Linked DNA regions of Homo sapiens: all the other regions are linked to region 1. The links are contacts of gene promoters, found by promoter capture Hi-C in blood cells and fetal thymus (Javierre and others, 2016). All regions are on one chromosome and are shown on one strand. The core of a region is centred on a gene start or on the middle of the fragment in contact, and the rest is flanking DNA. Distances in the headings are between cores, read along the strand shown. Region 1 holds the start of OSGIN1 (oxidative stress induced growth inhibitor 1). Region 2 overlaps USP10 (ubiquitin specific peptidase 10). Region 3 overlaps LOC124903735 (a long non-coding RNA gene). Region 4 overlaps ATP2C2 (ATPase secretory pathway Ca2+ transporting 2).

Region 1 (3,673 bases), core at 512-3,011:
CCATCAGCCCCAAGGCACTGCTCTGGAACCTGTCTGGGTTTATCCTGGCTTTTTTGCATTCATTTAGATTTTTTTTAATTGCCTCAAAATATTATTTTGTTTACTGGTTTTGGTTCCCTCTTAAAGTTTGCACTCAAAGGTGCACCCCCATCCCCCGCCCCTCGAGGGTGGCAGACAGGAGGACGAGGGCGGGCGACAACAACATCAACACTGAAAACAACAGCGAATGGACACTGAGGTCATGTGTGCACCGCGGCAGCTCCCTCCCTCCCTCCCTGCCTTCCACCCTCCTTCCCTCCCTCCCTCCTTCCCTTCCTGCCTTCCTCCCTCCTTCCATCCCTCCTTCCCTCCCTCCCTGCCTTCCTCCCTCTTTCCCTTCCTCCCTCTTTCCCTCCCTCTTCCCTTCCTCCTTCCTCCTTCTCTCCCTGCTTTCCTCCCTCCTTCCCTCCCTACTTCCCTCCCTCCCTGCCTTCCTCCCTCCTTCCCCCCCTGCTTCCCTCCCTACCTCCTTCCTTCCCTCCCTCCTTCCCTCCCTGCTTTCCTCCCTCCTTCCCTCCCTACTTCCCTCCCTCCCTGCCTTCCTCCCTCCTTCCCCCCCTGCTTCCCTCCCTCCCTGCCTCCCTTCTGTTTAACCGATGTTGAGTGCCTATGTGTCCTAAGCGCTGTTCTAGACACTGTGTAGAGCAGTCACGAATATACTTCCCTGCCCACACAGAGCTCACATTCTGGTTTGGGAAGAGAGACAATAAAATAATTCAGAAATAGGCCAGGTGTGGCATCTCACGCCTGTAATCCCAGCACTTTGGAAGGCTGAGGCGGGCGGATCATCTGAGGTCGGGAGTTCGAGACCAGCCTTGCCAACATGGTGAAACCCTATCTCTACCAAAAATACAAAATTAGCCGGGCGTGGTGGCACATGCCTGTAATCTCAGCTACTCAGGAGGCTGAGGCAGGGGAATCACTTGAGCCCGGGAGGCGTAGGTTGCAGTGAACCGAGATCGCGCCATTGCACCCCAGCCTGGGAAACAAGAGCGAAACTCCTTCTCAAAATAATAATAATTAAGAAACAGCAAGGTGTGGGGTGTGCAGTGCTACCCACATAAAACAGGAGAGAAGAGCCTGGGAGCAGGCTTCAAGTTCTAAGCATGGCAGACAAGAAGGATGTCATGTAAACCCTCACGGCCACTCTGGTAGAGACAATCTGTGACTTGGCCCCAGTTTTCAGATGAGGAAACTGAGGTGCGGGCCCTAAGGCAGCTTGCCAGAGCCCTGCAGCTGGGAAATGGCAAAGCTGGATTCGCAGCCCAGGCAGGCTGGTGCCAGAGGGCTTTTGGGGATTGGAGGGTGCAGTGAAATCCAGGTGGAATGCGGGAACTGGACGGGGTTTCGCCACTTAAAGGTACTGTTATTTTAACTGTGTGCGGGACAAAGCCATCTCCTCTTCGCTTATGGCAAAGGCCAGGCTGGCTCATTCAGAGGTCACTGGTTCCTCCTCCAGAGACTGAGCCCCAGGGATGGGGGTCTGGCTAGGGGGAGGTGGCTGGGAGGGAGCGCCACCCTAGGCCCCCTGGCAGGCCGCCCAGCAGGGGCCCTTTAAGGCTGGCCATGAGGCAGGCAGCGTGACACCCGCCCAGTGTGCAAGTTCATTCATCACGGGCCCCTGCTGACTCACGCTTATGAAAGTGATTTTCCTGGCCCCGCCCACTGCCTGCGCCGCCTCCTCCCTCCCCGTGAAATACCCTCACTTCCCTCTGGCCTCTCAGAGCCTCTTGGATCCCCACAGGGTAATGGGTGTCCCGATCTCGCGGGGGACTCTGTGATCCGTGTTCCCCTGACCCTCCTAGTGCACAACTTGGCCGGGCTCACTGGGCTCCTGCACCACTGCCTGTCAGGTGAGTGTCCGGGGCCAGGTTCCGGGGCAGGGAATCAGGCACATCCCAGGCACCCGTGGCAAGCCCAGCTGGACCGGAGGGTCTGCAGAGCCCTGGCGCCAGGCGGGGGTCCCGGGTGGTCCTGAGTGGAGGCCCTCGCCTGGGTTCTCTGGAGCCCGGCAGGATTCTCCCCTACACCAGGTTCCTCCCAGATCCTCAGCTGTGTCCCTGTCCAGGTGCCTGGTACCCTCAGCCAAGCAGCTGAAGCGGCCACAGTCCCAGCGTACCCTGGGCCATGTGACCGCCGCTCCTAGCAGGAAAGAGGGGTGTGGCCAGCCCGGGCTTACTGCCCAGCTGTTCCAAGGCCACTGGGTCGGCAGCCAGGCTGGGTGCCTTCTGGGTTTCTGCTTCTCCTGCTCAGGAGGGACAGAGCCCTTGGGTGCCCATGAACAGCCCCCATCCCTGGAGGTCCCAGCGACTTAGCTTCTCTCAGGAGGCTCAAGAGTGCGGCGGGTTGGGAGGGCGGCCCCTGGGAGGCTGGGGAGCTGCAGGAGACCCTGGGCTCCAGGTGTGCGGCACTGGGGCGAGGGCTCGTCTGTGATAAATGGCAAGTGCCGCTTGCGTGGACAGACCACCCCCTCACACTTTAGCGCCCCCAGGGCTTCGTGTCACTTTCTTGGTCTCCCTGTAATCAGCTGTTTTACTGGAGGGGACTTGGCAGAACTAAGATTTGTCACATGGCCGTGGTCTTGGACCCTCCTAGGTGACCTGGGGCAAGACGCCCACTCCTCCTGACCAGCTTTTCTTCCTCTGCACAATGGGGATAAGAACACCCACCTCCTGGGGTGTCTTCAAAGGCAAAGGAGTAAATGGCCACTAGAGGTGCCAAAGAAACGCAGACATACAGGTGTCCCAGAGTCTCAGAGCAGTTTGCAGCTTTAACAACCTCAGAAGTACAAATGCCGCACACTTGAAAGAAACGTCAGTCGAAGGTGCAACTGTTTTCATTTCTTTTATCCTGTTTGCCTTTGTGAAATTTGAAACATCAATTTTTAATGTTAACTTCTTTCCATCAACATCTGCCATCTTCAATTAAAGGGACTTAAAAAGATAACATTAAAAATTGATTCTTCCAACTCCGTAAAACTAAAAAGCACAAAAGGAATTGAAATGAAACTTTTGAACTCTCTTTTGTAAGTTGGCAGCATATTTGTCCGAGGTTATGAGTGACAGCGTCAAGCTGCTTCGGACTTTGGGGCGTCCTGTGTCACTCTGAACGGGAAGTGACTTCTCAGGTCCAGCCCCTGGGTGGTGACCTCATGTATGTGGCATCCAGAAGCTTCTGTTCAAGAGCCTGAGGACAGTCCCAGGAGGGAGCCCTGGACTTGGAGCCCCAAAGCCCTGGTGGTAAACCAGTGTCCTCTGCTGCCTGCAAAGGGTGGGAAGGGGCAGCCAGTTCTGATTCCTCATTGGCCAGCAGGGGCTCCTGCAAATGCCCTTCTTGGGGTGGTGGGAAAATCTGAAAGAACAAAGGAGGGGCAGGGCATGGCCCAGGGTGGGCGCACTGGGGCAGATGGAGCAGGTTGGCTCACTCGTTTGGTGAAGGGGCTGGGGTGCCTGGGGGTGTCAGCCCACGGGGATCAAATATCAGTTCCATCGCCCACCGGCTCTGTAGCCTCAGGGCACGGCTTCACCTCTCCTAGCCTTAGTCTCCTCATCTGCAAAGTGGGTTGCTAGGAGGATCAAAGGAGGTGATGCGGGGAAGCCCTTTACCAGGAGGTCCCATGCTCCCCAGTGGCTGC
Region 2 (3,673 bases), core at 643-3,142, 780 kb after region 1:
TATTTTCACTGTTACTGTCAATACATAATTTCTTTGTTGACTTTTGCAAGTATATGTAAATATTATATGAAAACTTTTTTGTTCTTAATGTATATTTATAGTTTTGGTAGATGTTGTCAAAGAGCTCTCCAGAAACGTTTTCCCTGTGCATTCTTACCAGGAGGGTATTACATTTAGTGGCCATTTATTCACATTTACAATAATAATGAGTATTATTCATTTATGTAATATTTAGTTACTGGTTATTTTTGAATCACTTGGCTTGTAAATTTCCCTGGAAGCTACTAGACTGTTTAGTTCCATTAGAACAGAGGAACCACACTCTGCTTACCATTTTTATACCCAGTACTGATCATACGTGGGCATTTGTAGGTTCTAAATAATTATTGATTAAATGAATGAATCATTGCTTCTCCGTTGTGGAAATTGCTAATTCTTCTCAATGACTTCTTCTTCTTCTTTTTTTTTTTTTTCTTTTTGAGATGGAGTCTGGCTCTGTCGCCCCGGCTGGGGTGCGGTGGCGCGATCTCAGCTCACTGCAACCTCGGCCTCCCTGGTTCAAGCAATTCTCCTGGCTCAGCCTCCCGAGCAGCCGGGACTACAGGTACACGCCACCACGCCTGGCTAATTTTTGTATTTTTAGTAAAGATGGGGGTTTCACCATGTTGGCCAGGCTGGTCTCGAATTCCTGACCTTAAGTGATTCGCCCATGTCAGCCTCCCAGAGTGCTGGGATTATAGGCGTGAGCTACTGCGCCAGGCCTCAATGACTTGTTTCTTGAAGCTCCATGGAGAATATGAACTGGTAGGCACTTGCCAGACTCACATCCGTGCAGTTTAACCACTTCGTTTTCCAGAAAATCACATTCTGAATTCCGTGAAATCAGGCTTGCAACAAGGGCTGTGTCTGTCTGATAATATGTGTATCTGTGTATCCTATGGAAATGCATTTTTAAACTAAGAAGTTATATAGATATTTTTAAAGATCATTAATCAGGATCATTAACATTTTCCTTTTTTGGATTTCCTTGTCTTCCCATTTGAACCACGTTTTCTGCTTTTCTTTAGTATGTTTGGCAGAGAAAGCGGAAATGGAGGTAGTGGCATGAGTCAGCAGAAAGGTAAATGGAACAACTGGCAGTATTTGTGAACCAATAAAAATCTCCTGCAAGCAGGACTCGACAAGTTTGGCATACAAAATTGATTTGTTTCAAAATAAGCTTTATCAGTTTCATAGTGTTCTTTGACAATTTGTAGGAAAGGTTCAGTAGTATTTCTTTTATATAAACAACCTAGAACTCTGAGTTGCAGATCCTCTGTTTAATTGAGAAAGGATCTTGGGGGTTATGGCCCAAATGTTGCATAGGATTGTTAAAATATGTAGCATTTTTTCTGAAAGTATATAATTTGTATATTTTATGTGATCAGTGACTCTCTTATTTTTTTTCAGTATATTTTTGGAGATTTTAGCCCTGATGAATTCAATCAATTCTTTGTGACTCCTCGATCTTCAGTTGAGGTAAGACAAAACTTTGTTTTAGTGAGTCCGTGGGTAGATACAATTAATAGTTATGTTTCTATTTTAATTTGTTTTTTTAAATAAAGAATTCCAATGTAGAGAAAAGTATGGAGACTAATATGAGAAATGCCTCAACCCACCAACTAGATTTGACTGACATTTGATTTGACATTTTGCTGTATTTACTTTATTAGGCTTTGAAAAGCAAATAAAACATTACAGATGCAACTGAAGCCTCCTTTGGACCTCTCTCCCATCTCTCCCCAGAAGTAACTACTCTGCTGAAATTGGGAAATATTGGTCCTGACTGGTTTTCACCTTTTATCATATACGTGTATATCACCATAGTCAATCGTAGTGTTTTATGTGCTTTAAAGTGTCACGTAAATGGTATACTATATTCAGTTTGTCGTTTATTTTAAGCTAACGTTGTATTCTTTATGCTAAGAAATTTGTCCTTGTTCTTTGATTTCCAGTGCTCAGTACCACTGATTGAACACACTGCAATTTACTTACATATTTTCCTGTCGAGGGCCATTTAGGTCTCTAGTTCAGCCGTTAAAAATATTGCACTCAATGTATTTTATCATGTCTCCTGGTGCCCCTCTGTGGGCTCCTCCGGGACACAGACCTGGGAATGGAATTACTGGGTTCTGTGGACCGAGCCTCTTTAGTTTCACTAGAGACTGCTCGTTTGCTATCTAGGATTTTAACAGTCTTCATTCCCATCAGCAGTGCATGGGAGTTTTCTTGCTCGTATTAAAAAAAAAATCTTGCTAACTCTTGGTGTTGGCATATTTAAAATTTTGTGAATCTGATGTGTGTAGTAAATGGACTCTCATTGTTTTAATTTACATCTCCCAGATTACAAACAGCTGGGTACTATTTCATTCTCTTCACGTCTGCTGGCAATACGGATGTCCTCTGCTGTGAATTACTTGGTTTATATCCCTTGTCCATATTTTTAAATCAAGTAGCTTGTCTTTTTCTTACTGATTTTAGGATTAATCTTTGGTTTTACAGGCATCTGTTCCTAGCATGAGGGCTTTAAGCTTCACATGTTAGGTGAACCCTTTTTGGGGTTGGGTTTTTTTGTTGTTGTTGTTGGATAAGAGGAGTACACTTTCAACTTTAATGTCAACTGAATTGATTTTTTTTTCCTTATAGTTTGTGGATTTTTAGTTTTAAAAATATCTTTAGGAAATTCTTCCCATCCTTTAGATAACGAAGATATTTGTCTGTTTTCTTCTAAAAGTTTTCAGATTTTGTTTTCACGCTTCAGTGTGTAATAAGCTGAAATTGAGGCACTGAATTTTGTATATGTGTGAGGTGGCATCGAACTCCCTGCCCCTGTGGCCCTGGCAGGTGCCTCCTCACCATTCATTGGGAACTCGGCCCTTAGCTGTCCTGTCAGCCCCGTTGGGCAGTGCATCTCCCCTGGTTCCGAGTGTGCTATTCTGTGGGCCTATTGCTTATCTCTGTATAAACACCACACGTTTTATTTTATTTTTTTATTTCTATTTTTTCTTTTCTTTTCTTTTTTTCGAGACAGGGTCTCACTCTGCCCAGGCTGGAGTGCAGAGTGCAATCACAATTCACTGCAACTTTGACCCCCCGCCCCGCCTCAGGGGGGTTCTCATGCTTCAGCCCCTGAATAGCTGGGATTACAGGTGTGTGCTGCCAGGCCCGGGTGGTGTGTGTGTGTGTGTGTGTGTGTGTGTGTGTGTGTGTGTGGTGTGTGTGTTTTTAAGTAAGGGGATTTTGTATTTTTTCCCACATCACACTGATGTAACCATACGTTTTAGTTGCTACAGGTTTTCTCAAGTGTGTACACATGTGGATGGGTGGGTACCTGTTTGCAAGTGAGTAGACAAAAACTTGAGTTTTCATGTGATAGGAAAGTGAAAAGTGCACCGTATTTCAAGTCTGAAGGCCTGGGGTCGCTTCAGTTCTGCCACTTCCACAGGCTCGGAGGGTTTGGGCACGTTCTTTCCTTTTGGGCCTCCCATTTCTTTTCTCTTTCTTTTGTTTTTTAAATTGAAAAAATGCAGAATGCTTATTCACGTCACAGAAATGTTGGGAAATCAGCTAATGTATGGTCCGATAACTAGTGAGTAACAGATGTTAGTAGAAATGGATGAAAAGGGTACAGATG
Region 3 (3,673 bases), core at 838-3,337, 560 kb after region 1:
TCTTCGCACTTAACAGATACACAAACTGAGGCTCCAAGCAGGACAGTAGCTTCTCTACCAGGCAACCGGTCCATGGCAGAGACAGTGCAGGCCTCCTGCAATCCCAGCTCAAGAAGGCTGTGCTGGGGCAGGGAGCAAGGGACATGGCTGTCTGACACTGTGGCCTCGGGCCACACCCGCTGCTTGAATGTCTCGGGTCCAAACCTAGATGTGCTATAAGCGTGAAAGACGCAGCAGTGTTCAAAGACTTGGTTGATTTTTTTAAATTTTAAAATCTCACATTTTAAACTACTATTTTATGGCCAGGAGCAGTGGCTCAAGCCTATAATCCCAGCACTTTGGGAGGCCAACGCAGGCAGATCACCCAAGGTCAGGAGTTCGAGACCAGCCTGGCCAACATGGCGAAATCCTGTCTCTACTAAAAATACAAAAATTAGCCAAGAGTGGTGGTGGGCATCTGTGGTCCCAGCTACTCTGGAGGCTGAGGCAGGAGAATCGCTTGAGCCCAAGAGGTTGAGGTTGCAGTGAGCCGAGACTGCACCACTGCACTCTAGCCTGGGCAACAGAGTAAGACTCCATCTCAAAAAAATAAACTACTATTTAGAAATAATTATAGATTCAACAGAAAGTTGCAAAGACAGTGCACAGAGGTCCAATATACCCTGCACCAAGTTTCCCTGTGGTTCTAACTCACCTAATCCAAACTGGGAAAGAGACATTGATGCAATCAATGTGTGTGTCCAATTCTGTCATTTCCCCACGAGGGTAGTAGAGTCGTGTGACCATCACTACAAAACACAACTATTCCATCTATGCTGAAGATACAGAAGTGTTCCATCACCACGATGATCTCTTCCATGTTGCCCCAAAATAATTGTGAAATAGAAATTCCATGTAGAAATAGTATTTTGGCTATATTAGGTTCAAAGCATATTAATGTTACCATTTCTCGTTTTAAAACATGAACAATGAAAACCTTAGAATCGCACACAGGGCTTGTGTTCTACCTCCATTGTCTGTATTTGGATGTTGGACAGCACCGGCTCCGAAGTTCAGACCACAGCTCGGTTGCTTTGGATGGGTTAATTAACCTCCCTGAGCTAGGCTCCGTGGGAGTAGACCAGACCTGTAAGAGTCACTGTTCGGCACACTTGAGTGCCTATGTGCTGGGCATCACGTAAAGGCAGGGGACACAGGAGGCAGCGAGAGAGACCATGTCCTCCAGAGGGAGAGGAGATGCCCTGTAAAGGCTCACACACGGGCTAGTAGTGAGAAGGGTCAGTCCACAAGCACCGCCAGGTAGAGTTGGGACCCAGAAGGGGTTAAATAAAAACAGCAAGGGAGAGGACTTAAGAACATGGCACAGACTCCCCCACACACAGTAAGGAAAAGAAACGCATGCACTGTCAGCAAATAAACAGCAGAAACAAAGAATTTTTTTTTTTTTTTTTTTTGAGATGGAGTCTTACTCTGTCGCCCAGGCTGGAGTGCAATGGCGCGATCTCGGCTCACTGCAACCTCCACCTCCCAGGTTCAAGCAATTCTCCTGCCTCAGCCTCCCAAGTAGCTGGGATGACCAGGGTCCACCACCGCACCCACCTAATTTTTGTATTTTTAGTAGAGATGGGGTTTCATCATGTTGGCCAGGCTGGTCTCGAACTCCTGACCTCAGGTGATCTGCCCACCTCGGCCTCCCAAAGTGCTGGGATTACAGGCATGAGCCACGGCACCCAGCCAGAATGTTGCTTAGAAACCCAAATTGTCCCTGTTGCCCCAGAGCAGGTAAACCATACTGGGGGACCCCAGAATCCCAGCTCTTCCCGGGTGCCTCCCAGTACCCAGAAGGCAACAGGAAGAAGCGACTGCGGTTGAAAATAATAAAAATACTGCTACATGCAGGCCCTGTTCCCCTAGAGAACTCGACCGCCAGCTGGGAACTGATACCAGGCCCCACGAGACCCATCCCCCAGGGCCCGTCCCAGAGATACTCAGCCCCAGGCGCTGGAAAGCTTTTCCAAAGAGATTATGAAAAACGTCTAATATGCGGAAAACCAGACTAAAAAAACAAGCCCTCTTTATACCCACCACCCAGACTCAGCCATTGCTAACATTCTGCCCTTTCCTACTGTTCGTTGGAATGTTCGAAGTGGGTCAATTCTGACATTTAAGCTTTCAACATATTTGACGCATTTTTTAAAAAATGATGCCGTTGTACTAACCACAGAACTGTCAATGCATCTAACAACATTAACAATCATTTTGTCATAGAACCTGAGCGTCAATTGCTGGACTCTGGTTGGTAATGCAGAGTCTCCCGGCTTTACCCCAGACCTCCTGAATCAGAATCCGCACCTTCACAAGGTCTGAGTACTTCATGTACTCATGATGGTTGGAGGAACAAACTATTTTTTTGGAGACAGGGTCTCGCTGTCATTGAGGCTGGAGTGCAGTGGTGCAATCATAGCTCACTGCAGCCTCCACTTCCTGGGCTCAAGTGATCCTCCCGCGTCAGCCTCTCGAGTAGCTGGGACTACAGGCACATGCCACTACACCTGGCTGATTTTTATTTTATTTTCCAGGGTCTTGCCAAGTTGCCCAGGCTGGTCTGGAACTCCTGGACTCAAGTGATCCACCCACCTCAGCCTCCCAAAGTGCTGGGATTATAGGTGTGAGCTGCTCCGCCCAGCCCAGAAGCAAACCTTATATTCAGTCTCATTGGATTAAATTCTATCCCTCCACAAAATTCATGTGTTAAAGTCTTTCTCCCAGTGCCCCAGGATATGACTATGTGACTTATTTGAAAATAGAGTCATTGCAGATGGAATTAGTTAAGATGAGGTCACAGCAGGGTACTGGGCCTATGATCTAGTGTGACTGGTATTTTTTTTTTTTTTTTTTGAGGTGGAGTCTCACTCTGTTGCCCAGGCTGGAGTGCAGTGGTGAGATCTCGGTTCACTGCAGCCTCTGCCTCCCAGATTCAAGCGATTCTCCTGCCTTAGCCTCCTGAGTAGCTGGGATTACAGGCATACACCACCACGCCTGGCTAATTTTTTTTTTTTTTTTTTTGTATATTTTTAATAGAGCTGGGGTTTTGCCATGTTGGCCAGGCTGGTCTTGAACTCCTGACCTCAGGTGATCCACCCGCCCTGGCCTCCTAAAGTGCTAGGATTATAGGCAGGAGCCACCATGCATGGCCTTTTTTTCTTTTTCATTGGACAGAGACAGCCATGCACGGAGGGAAGGTATTGTGAAGAGTCACACAGGAAGACAGCGTCCACAGGCCTCGAGATGCACCAGCCCTGCTGACACCTTGACTTTGGGTTTGTGGCATCCAGAGCTGTGAGGAAGTCGATTTCTGGTGATTTTAACCCCCTGCCCGCAGTTTGTGGTACAGCAGACCTAGGAAATGAATCCACAGTCCCTATCCAAAGTTCACCTGTGGTTTTCTTAAAAATACCCATGGCGGAGCCCACACTAACGATTCCGATGTCCCAGGTCTGGGCGGGGCTCAGGTGTGGGTGCTTTTAAAACTGAGACTACACTGCAGGCAAGGCCAGCGTGGAGTCACGAAGCTGCTCTCCTGGTTAACCAGGAAACAGCAGCCAGGTGGTGTAGGGCGCCTGAGGACAGTCACTGAAGTGTACCTGAGAAGGTGGGGATGACCCTGGATGGC
Region 4 (3,673 bases), core at 731-3,230, 510 kb after region 1:
TCCATAACATGCTCCCAGCTGCCTGCCAGACCCACCCTGTGCTCTGGAGCTGCCTGGTGTTTGCCTGGAACCACAGGCAGGCCCTTCTGGAACTGCAGCATTTTGGATTCTGGGTTAGGAAGATCTCCCTGCCTTCAGGGGAATGAAAAGGGCTGGTCCTCCGCACCTCTCACTTTATCAGGAGGACTGGCAGGGAAGGCGCTTCCTGCCGGCGCAACAGAGCTGCAGCCCGTCCTGAATCTTTTCTGTTTTCTCCCTTGGCAGATTTGCTGTTTTTAACTGGATTGGCCTCATCCGTCTTCATTTTGTCAGAGCTCCTCAAACTATGTGAAAAATACTGTTGCAGCCCCAAGAGAGTCCAGATGCACCCTGAAGATGTGTAGTGGACCGCACTCCGCGGCACCTTCCCTAATCATCTCGATCTGGTTGTGACTGTGGCCCCTGCCGTGTCTCCTCGTCAGGGGAGACTTTTAGGAGGCCGCAGCCTTCCATCACCGGATCAGTTTTTCCTCTTAGGAAAGCTGCAGGAACCTCGTGGGCTCCAGGGACCCAGGCCCACATCCATCCAGCGTTCCCGCTGGCTGTGGGACAGACAGGGAGGGGCCTGTACAGAAACACCACACTGTTTATTAAATCACAATGATTTTTATTAACCATGTCTAACTACGTATCTGTGCCACAGCTTGCAGTGAGGCAGGCCACTCGTGGCAGATACAAGGGGCTCCTGAGAGGCAGTGGGTAGGATGGTCACACTCTGCCCATTGCCCTCCTGGAGGCCCCATTTCCTCATCATAAAATGAGGGACTTTTAAATAAAGTGCTATGCCGGGGGATAATTATTTTGATGTGTTTACCTAGGGTTTTTCATACAAGGGGCCAGGTTGGAAACCCACAGCCATGTGTTAATGGCCACGTGGGGTGAGCAGCAATCCATCATGAATGGCCTACAGGAAGGCCTCGGCTTTTGGACATAAAGAGTAGGGCTGGGCATGGTGGCTCACGCCTGTAATCCCAGCACTTTGCAAGGCCAAGGCAGGCAGATCACTTGAGGCCAGCCTGGCCAACACAGCAAAACCCTGTCTGTCTCTACTAAAAGTTTAAAAAAAAAAAAAAAAACAGTTGCCAGGCGTGATGATGCACACCTGTTAATCCCAGCTACTCGGGAGGCTGAGGCAGGAGAATGGCTTGAGTCCAGGAGGTGGAGATTGTACCACTGCACTGCAGCATGGGCAACAAAGCAAGAGTCTCTCTCAGAAAGTGGCCCTTCTCTCCGGAACCAGGAACTGTAGTATCTCCTGCTGCCTGCAGACAAGCTTGATTTCCCACTGCCCCAAAGACTTCCAAAAACCGATCTGCTCTTCCACGTGACAGATGGCAGAGGAGAGAGGTCTCCATGCTGTTCTTCTGCCTGAAGCCACGCCAGAACCACCAAAGGGAACCAGAAGGGGAACTCCGTCCCCATCTCTCAGGAAATAAGGCCAGAGCTAGAACCCCCCATTTACTAGTCAGGCCTCACTAGAGAAACAGAACCAACAGGATGGAGGGAGATGCAGAGATTTGTTTTAAGGAACTGGCTCATAGGATGTTGGGGGCTGGCAAGTCTAACATCTTGAGGGCAGGCCAGCATCCTGGAGACCCAGGGAAGAGCTGGGGATGCAGGCTGGAGGCAGAATTTCCTCCTCCTCAAGGGAGTTCAGCCTTTTCCTCTTATAGTCCTCAACTGATCGGATGAGGCCCACTCACGTTATGAAGGATAAACTGTTTGTTTTACTTCAAGTCTACGGGCTTACATGTTAGTTACACAGCGCCATCTAGACCAGTGTTTGTTTGACGAAAATCAACTTGGCCTGGCCAAGTTGTCAGATAAAAGTACCCGTTGCACCCAGCCACGGTAGCTATGAAAAGGGCTACCAGGGGTGGTAACAGCTGGGTCAGACGAAGATAAGGAAGGTCAGAGTGGACCCCTGCCAGGGTTCCAGGCAGAGTCCAAAGTCCTCCATAGTAGGATTCACAGCCTGGGAAGAAGCCCCTCTCTGGCTACAACCTGTGACACCAGGGCCACAGGAGGAGATGCAGCGATGGGCCATTCCTAGTGAGACACAGACACAGGGCTGGCTGGAGAAGAAACCTTTTGAGCTGTGGGGCTGTCTTCCTAGAAGCTGCCAACCCCTGGAACCACTAAGAGGTCAAGGCTGAAGTGTGCCACTTCCACAGTCTGCTAAGGAGTGCCTCCCCCTGAGTCAGGGACAATTCTTGCTCTACTTTTCAGGATCCTTGGGCACACTGCTGGCCCGAGACATTTACTTCCCATTTAAAATTAAGTAATCAAAATACCAGGGTCGATTACTCTGAACTCTTGCTTATGTAAACTTTAGGGATAAAACTGTAGTAAGACACAAAATGCTAACAATAAAATATAAATTAGACTACATTAAAACTAAGACCTTCTTTTCATTAAGGACACAGTAGACTTGAACACCACCATTAAGCAACTTAGCTTGATTTACACTTGTAGAACACCCCATTCACGAGTAGCATAGAAACAGTCACCAAAATAAAGAGCAGAAATCAAACGAAAAAGCAAAAATAGAGGAAAATCAATCAAAACCTAGTTTTTCGAAGAGATCAATAAAACTATCAGTCTTGCAATAAGCTTATCAAAGAAAAAAGGGAAGAGAAATGACCAATGTCAGGAATGAAAAAGTATATCACCACAAACCCTTCAAGATATTCCAACAATAATAATAAATAATACTATGTACATCTTTATGTACCTAAATTCAATCAATTGGATGAAATAAACCAATTGCTTGAAAACCAAAAACTACCAAAACTCACTGAAGATTAAATAGATAAGCTGAAGTTGAAACCCTTCCAAAAAAGGCAGTTTCTGAAGCCAGATGATTTCACTGGTGAATTTTACTAAACTTGTAAAGAAATGGCAATTCGATACACTGAATTCCAAAAATAAAAGGGGACCGAGCACTTCTCATTTTATAAGGTCAACAATCACTCTGATACCAAAACTAGAGAAAAATACTAGAGACCAACATCCCTTATGAATATATGCACGAAAATCCTCAACAAAATATGAGGAAATCAGATCTAGCCAGGTACGAAGAATATAAGACACCAGGACGAAGTGGGGTTAATTGAGGAATGGAATTCAAGCATTCCAAAGTTCAACATTCAAAACCAATATAACTGAAAAGTTCAACATTCAAAAACCAATATAACTCACTATATTAATAGTCTGAAGAAGGAAAAACACATGGTTATATCAATTAATGCAGAAAAGGCATTTGATAAAATTCAATCTCCATTTGTAATAAAAACTCTCAAACTAGGAATTGAAGGAAACTTCTTCAACCTGATAAAGAACATCTACAAAAAACCTATAGCTAACATCATACTTAATGATGAAAAACTGAATTCTTTCCCCACAGGATAAGGTCCAAGGGTGACCAGCCTCACCACTCCTATTCAGCACAGTATTAGAAGTCCTAGCCAGTGTAATATGGCAAGAAAAGTTAAAAGGCATTAGCAAAGAGCCTGGAAAGGAGAAAATCACAGATAACGTAATTGTCCACACAGAAAATCCCAACAAATCTTTTTAAAAAAGAAAAACCCTCGTAGAATCAACGAGTTTAGTAAAGCCACAAGATACAAGGTTA

What was found. Contacts are between HindIII fragments. The CHiCAGO score rates a contact against its expected background, and 5 or more counts as called.
Region 2: a contact is called between a fragment that was not itself captured here and the fragment with the promoter of OSGIN1 in region 1, in 1 of 17 cell types (total B cells). The highest score is 5.0, in total B cells.
Region 3: a contact is called between a fragment that was not itself captured here and the fragment with the promoter of OSGIN1 in region 1, in 2 of 17 cell types (naive B cells and erythroblasts). The highest score is 5.4, in naive B cells.
Region 4: a contact is called between a fragment that was not itself captured here and the fragment with the promoter of OSGIN1 in region 1, in 3 of 17 cell types (naive CD8 T cells, megakaryocytes and erythroblasts). The highest score is 7.9, in naive CD8 T cells.

Annotation. Positions count from the first base shown.
Region 1 is chr16:83,951,479-83,955,151 of GRCh38, forward strand. It overlaps OSGIN1 (oxidative stress induced growth inhibitor 1), which reads left to right and starts at 1,762. Exons shown (of 6, transcript NM_182981.3): 1 at 1,762-1,892. RefSeq lists a silencer at 2,037-2,086 and an enhancer at 2,575-3,344. The HindIII fragment of the contact is 5,629 bases long and covers 1-3,208 here.
Region 2 is chr16:84,731,986-84,735,658 of GRCh38, forward strand. USP10 (ubiquitin specific peptidase 10) reads left to right here. Exons shown (of 14, transcript NM_005153.3): 2 at 1,450-1,518. Among named protein-coding and RNA genes, the nearest start is that of USP10, 34 kb to the left of the region's middle. RefSeq lists an enhancer at 3,446-3,673. The HindIII fragment of the contact is 1,351 bases long and covers 1,218-2,568 here.
Region 3 is chr16:84,515,588-84,519,260 of GRCh38, forward strand. It overlaps LOC124903735 (a long non-coding RNA gene), which reads left to right. Exons shown (of 2, transcript XR_007065148.1): 2 at 2,580-2,743. Among named protein-coding and RNA genes, the nearest start is that of MEAK7, 13 kb to the left of the region's middle. The HindIII fragment of the contact is 160 bases long and covers 2,008-2,167 here.
Region 4 is chr16:84,463,350-84,467,022 of GRCh38, forward strand. It overlaps ATP2C2 (ATPase secretory pathway Ca2+ transporting 2), which reads left to right. Exons shown (of 27, transcript NM_014861.4): 27 at 265-838. The coding sequence ends at 383. The region is part of intron 1 of ATP2C2-AS1 (ATP2C2 antisense RNA 1); the gene reads right to left. Among named protein-coding and RNA genes, the nearest start is that of ATP2C2-AS1, 2.2 kb to the right of the region's middle. The HindIII fragment of the contact is 1,340 bases long and covers 1,311-2,650 here.